2 separate regions of the Homo sapiens genome follow, and region 2 is linked to region 1. The links are contacts of gene promoters, found by promoter capture Hi-C in human tissues and cell types (Jung and others, 2019). All regions are on one chromosome and are shown on one strand. The core of a region is centred on a gene start or on the middle of the fragment in contact, and the rest is flanking DNA. Distances in the headings are between cores, read along the strand shown.

Region 1 (2,681 bases), core at 51-2,550:
ACCCTGAGAGCCCCAGGGCCCTCCAATGCCCCACTCCTTCTCCAGGTCTGCCCTGGCTTGCTCTGTCTCCCTAGGGCAGCTGGCTTTTGTCCCAGGGGAGCATGGGAACAGCTTGGGTGAGAATGGGGGAGGGGCTTCCCAGCAGGTTTCACCTCTCCCACCTGGCATAATTTCTACCCTGCACCCAGTGATGCCCAGGAGCCAGCACAAGAACCTCTGAGCTCTCCTGCCGGCTTTCCCCACTGTGGGGCCCACAGGATGGCTGGGTGTGCTGGGGAAACTGAGGGAGATGACTTGTGGGTGCCAGCACCATGGGACTTTGGGTGATCTTGGACCTATTCCTTCCTCCTTCTAGGTGCTTCCTGAGCTGGCGAAAAGGAGAGCTGGATGCTGGGATTCTATAAATTCGGCGGTGGATGTGAGTCTAGCTACAGCATGGACCCTGGCCAGCCCTGGAATCTGAGTTCAGAGATCTTTGAAAAAATGCCTTCCGATAACTGAGCACCTACTACATGCTGGACACTGCACCAGGAGATTTGTGTGCATTCCCTCATTGAATCTTACAACCACCCTCTGGGATGGTTTTTGCTATTAAGCCGATTTTATAGATGAGAATACTGAGGGCTAGAAAAGATAAGTACCTTGTCCAAGGTGACACGGCCAGTAAGCTGTGGAGTCTGGATTTGAACTAGGCTCTCTTGGAGTTTGGAGCCCGGTCTTTTCATTTCTGGCAGAGACCTGTGGCTTCAGGGGGCGGAGCCCAGCCCATGGGGGAAGTAAGTCCTTCCTGTTAGATCTGTCTGAGGAGTAGTGAGTTTCTCATCTAGGAAACCATCAGCAGGCCAGGCTGGACTGCCCCATTTCTAGCCCCCTTTCTTCTCTGCAGACTGCCCTGTTTCTAGCCCCTTTTCTTCTCTACCCTTTTCTGTAGAGTGCGTTAGACCCATTTTACAGAAGGGGACTCTGAGACCCTTTCTTCTCTGCGGGGCAGGGTATGTGGTTCAGACGAGCCGCTTCCATCCCCAGTTCTGTCCCTAAGCCCTGGGTGACCTCAGCATTGAGCATCGTCTCTGAGCCTCAGTTTCCTGTCTATATCTAGTGCCACCAGGCATCAGAAACGTAAGTGCTTCAAGGATCTTGGGTGAAAAGCCGCTTTAGCGGCGAGCATACACTAATTAATAAAATGCCTTGGCCGGGGCTGGGCAGAGGAAGTAAGCGGGCAGCCGAGGTGACAGCTGGAGGGAGGAGCGGGGGTGGAGCCGGGGGAAGGGTGGGGAGGGGATGGGCTGGAGCTCCGGGCAGTGTGCGAGGCGCACGCACAGGAGCCTGCACTCTGCGTCCCGCACCCCAGCAGCCGCGCCATGAGCCGTGAGTGCGACCCCGGTGCCCGGTGGGGAATTTTCTTGGCCTCCTGGTGGAGCCTTGAATGCCAGGCTCAGCCCCTCATCTCTCTCCTCTGCAGGGAGTCTCTTGCTCTGGTTCTTGCTGTTCCTGCTCCTGCTCCCGCCGCTCCCCGTCCTGCTCGCGGACCCAGGGGCGCCCACGCCAGGTAGGCGGCCCCATCCCTCCCCAAGGGAATCCCCGGTCTTGCGCCCCTGGCCTGGTTTCAACCCCCTCCTTTCCCCTCCAGCGGGCCCAGCTTCCCCTTTCTGCTCGCGGTGCTGAGAAAGACTGAGGCTGAGTCTTTTGGTGGGATGGGGGCTCCCTGAAGCCCCCCCGGCGGTGTGGCCTTGGCTAATGGGCTATCTAGTTCTTTCAGGGGAAACAGCAGACTGGGATCTGGTGCCAACTTGGGGAGAAGGGACAGTCCCTATCCATCCCCCTCACCTGTTCTGGGCCCCAGATGTCTAAGCAGCCTCTGCACCCAACAACCCCGCTGTTTCCTATAGGGGCCTCTTTGGGAGGAAGCCGCAGGCACCAAGGGAAATGAGTTCCCTTTCTCCAGCCTCTAACCGTCTGGGAACCCATCCTGATTCCCATTGCCAGTGGAGAAGGTCTCCCCTGGTGAAGACTTCGGGAGAACATGGGAGATGGAAATACATTTAGGAGCCGGGATGCTTCATCTGGGGTTTAAGAGATCCCCATTGAGCAAATGAGGAAACCGAGGCTCAGTAGGTGCCATGATTCCCCAAGCTCACAAAATACATGGTGGGCCCAGGATCTGAACTCAGGTCTGTCTGCGTCCACACACTTCGCAAGGTCTTTCCACAGAAAGCTGCTTCTACCCACAATGGACCCGGAGCCACTCTGGGTTTCATGGGGGAGGTTGATGGGGAAATTCCGCCCTTCCCTCCCCCATGCATGTGCCAGGTTCCAGGTGAAGGAATTCAGCTCCTCGCTCAGCCAACCTTCCTCCCCCAGCTCGCTGCTTGTGTGTGTGCGTGTGTGTGAGCATGTGTCCCAGTTGGATATAGTTTCCTCCACCACCTAGCTGTGTAAAATCTCTAAAATGAGGCCCAGAGAGGGCAGGAGGGAGCAGAGGGAGTCCGCACTTTCTGCTGTGATGCTCTAAGGATCTGGTGCGTGGGGGAAAGAGGAAAGATATGTACATGGATTTTGGATCAGACCAAGTTTCCTGAAACGGGCTTTGGGTGGGTGGCATTTAGGGGACCCAAAGAGAGGACGGAGGGTGCTCTAGGAAAGGGATTGCGTTGAATAAAAGTCTGGTTTATGGGAAGAGG
Region 2 (2,681 bases), core at 127-2,626, 530 kb after region 1:
CACTGGCTAACATTTGTTTCTTTGCTTTTGAGTGACTTTATACCACTGTGGTATAGCAACGTTAGCTTTCTCAGGTTAACCAAAAGTTCCTACTGGAACTTAAAAGTTTGGCCAATACAAAATTGGAAAAAAGATTACTTAAAGCACTTTATTTGGGATACAAACTCACCCACCCACAATGGGTAGGGGGAGAGTAGAAATGAAAAAAAGGAAGGCCGTGGGTAAGGGGAGAGGAGGAATTAAAAAGGGAACCCAAGGGTTATGAAAATATAAATAAATCACTGGATTAGATTTACTTTATGCCAGTGATTACTTGAGTCAATTTTGGTGTGAAGGATTTATCTGCCGGTATCTTAAACGGCTGCCTTGGGATTTGAAGGATGGAAATGACAGCTACCCTCATCTTCTCCCATCCTGAAAGCTAAGGATAGAAAAAAGTACAGCTGCTTCTCTGGGAAACAAAGATGCTTTCTACCATTCTTCTAAGATGGTGGAAGAGTCTCCTCAAGAGGCTACACCAAAAAGGAAAAATGAGAGAGGGAAAGAAGAAAGCCATAGCAGAATTTCCTGGCTGTGTTTCATGCCATTGCTCCTAGCCACAACCCCTGTGCAACCACTCAGGTCCGGCCGTCCCCATCCTGGGAGGTTAAGCCCTCCCAGGGCATTGTTTGGCCGGGGTTCCTATTTACCACTCAGATCGCCTCCACCACCCTCTACGCTAGGGTCTCGGGAAGCCCCAGGGCAGAAAGCTGAAAAGCTAGGAGAAGACTTGGTTTCGAGGACCTCTTCCAAACCCCCTTACTAACTGGTGTAGAAAAGGGAGAGTGAAGCCGGGCCTTTGCTTGGGTGGGTTCGTTAGGGGTCAGAGGCGTCCGCTCGGCCAGTGTCGAAGGAAGGTGGCCATTTGAGCCGGTCGCTCCGCATCGAAAAAGCCCTACCAGAGAGAGGGGCCTCCGCAGGGCCCGGGTTCCATCCGAGTGTCAGGTGCGGCCCTCAGTTCCCAACCCTCGAGGCACCAGGGGCGACAGCGCACAGGCCCCAGGGCTGAGACTGGTCTCCCGCCCGACCGCCGGGGACCAGGCACCCGGGCTGGGGCCCGAGCCGCATCGTGCCCGCCCCCGCCCTACCTGAGGGGGCCCGGGCGGGGTCGCTAAGGGCCGCTCCCGGGAGCCCCGCGACGGCGCGGCTTGGCGACGGAGGCGCCTCGTCTCGCCGGGGCAGAGCTCGGCGGAGGTTTCACGACCTCAAACTCCATCGGGAGCTACAGGGACAGCCCCGTTGGCGGCGGCGAAGGCCGCGACGGGGCCTCCTCCTCCTCCCTCCACCTCCGCCTCCTCCTCCTCCTCCTCCTCACCACGGAGGCGGACCTGGAGGGATCCCGATCTAGCTCTCGCGAGAAGTTACTCCCCACTTAACGCGAGATTACGCAAGCCCGGGAGTCGGGAGTTGGAAGGAAAGCGTAGTAGCCCCAGCCACCCAAACTGCGAATCAACTTCCCTCTGCCTCAGCGGATCCACCCCGATCACGTGACAAGGGAGCCCCGGAGCACTGTGGGAGGTACTGTGAGAAGGACTAGGCAAGCCGAAGGGATTGATGGGAAATTCCCTGCACATTCATCTGCGCCTTGAGCCGGCTTCCTAGACGCTGGTTTGAGCGAGTGTCTTAACTCCCTTCGTGAAAAGCGTGGAATCCATTGAGCAGAATCTGATACATCTGTGTCACATTCTTCTTCACACTCCTGTGATGACATGCCGACAGGATCCCTCAATCCCTTTACAAAGATGTCAAGTAATCTCCCCATTACAAAAACAAGAAGAAAACATGTATTTGGCAGGCACTTCCACATCTCACTTCTTTATTAAAGAGAAAACTCTGTTTCTAGACAAAGAGTCCAAAGTGGGGGGGGGAGGGGGGGAAGAAAGCTCTGAGCTCCTCAAAAGCTGGCAAAAATAAAAAATTTAAGCACAAATTCTGGCATCATATCTCAAATATTTGTTGAAGCTTTTTACACAGCGAACTAAGGTAAGAATTATTCTTACAGTTTATAATTTATAGATGAAACAGACTTGGAATAGGGATATCAGAATTAACATTTATAAACTACTTAGTATGTGTCAGGCAGGTCCTGTGTTAGGTGATATTTAATTTTAAATATTTTAGTTTTATTTACATTTCATTTAATTAGCAAAGTGATCCTAGAAGACAGATACAATGTACCCCTTGTTACTGATGAGAAACTAAAGAATGTAGGCTAGAAAATGACCATGACGCCGGGCGCGGTGGCTGATGCCTGTAATACCAGCACTTTGGGAGGCCGAAGCGGGTGGACCGCCAGGTCAGAAGTTAGAGACCAGTCTGGCCAACATAGTGAAACCCTGGCTCTACTAAAAATACAAAAATTAGCCGGGTGTGGTGGCGGGCACCTGTAATCCCAGCTACTCGGGGGGCTGAGGCAGGAGAATCACTTGAACCCGGGAGACGGAGGTTGCAGTGAGCCGAGACCGCGCCATTGCACTACAGCCAGGCGGGGGGGCAGTGCCAGACTCCGTCTCAACAAAAAAAAGAAGAAAAAAAATGACCATGACTTGTAATTAAACTCAAGGCACTTTCCAATGTGAAATCAGATGCCCAACAACAAAAATATCGAAGTAAACCTACGATAAATTAGAATATGGAAAGGT

The links. The method cuts DNA at HindIII sites, captures the fragments that hold promoters and counts their contacts. A contact is called where the count stands out against the background at its distance.
Region 2: the fragment with the promoter of RC3H2 here is called in contact with the fragment with the promoter of PTGS1 in region 1 in 1 of the 25 tissues and cell types used here (heart left ventricle).

The regions. Positions count from the first base shown.
Region 1 is chr9:122,369,724-122,372,404 of GRCh38, forward strand. PTGS1 (prostaglandin-endoperoxide synthase 1) reads left to right here and starts at 1,301. Exons shown (of 11, transcript NM_000962.4): 1 at 1,301-1,368; 2 at 1,463-1,549. The coding sequence starts at 1,362. The HindIII fragment of the contact is 15,948 bases long and covers 1-2,681 here.
Region 2 is chr9:122,903,983-122,906,663 of GRCh38, forward strand. RC3H2 (ring finger and CCCH-type domains 2) reads right to left here and starts at 1,377. Exons shown (of 21, transcript NM_001100588.3): 1 at 1,128-1,377. RefSeq lists a silencer at 832-1,481. The HindIII fragment of the contact is 5,285 bases long and covers 1-2,681 here.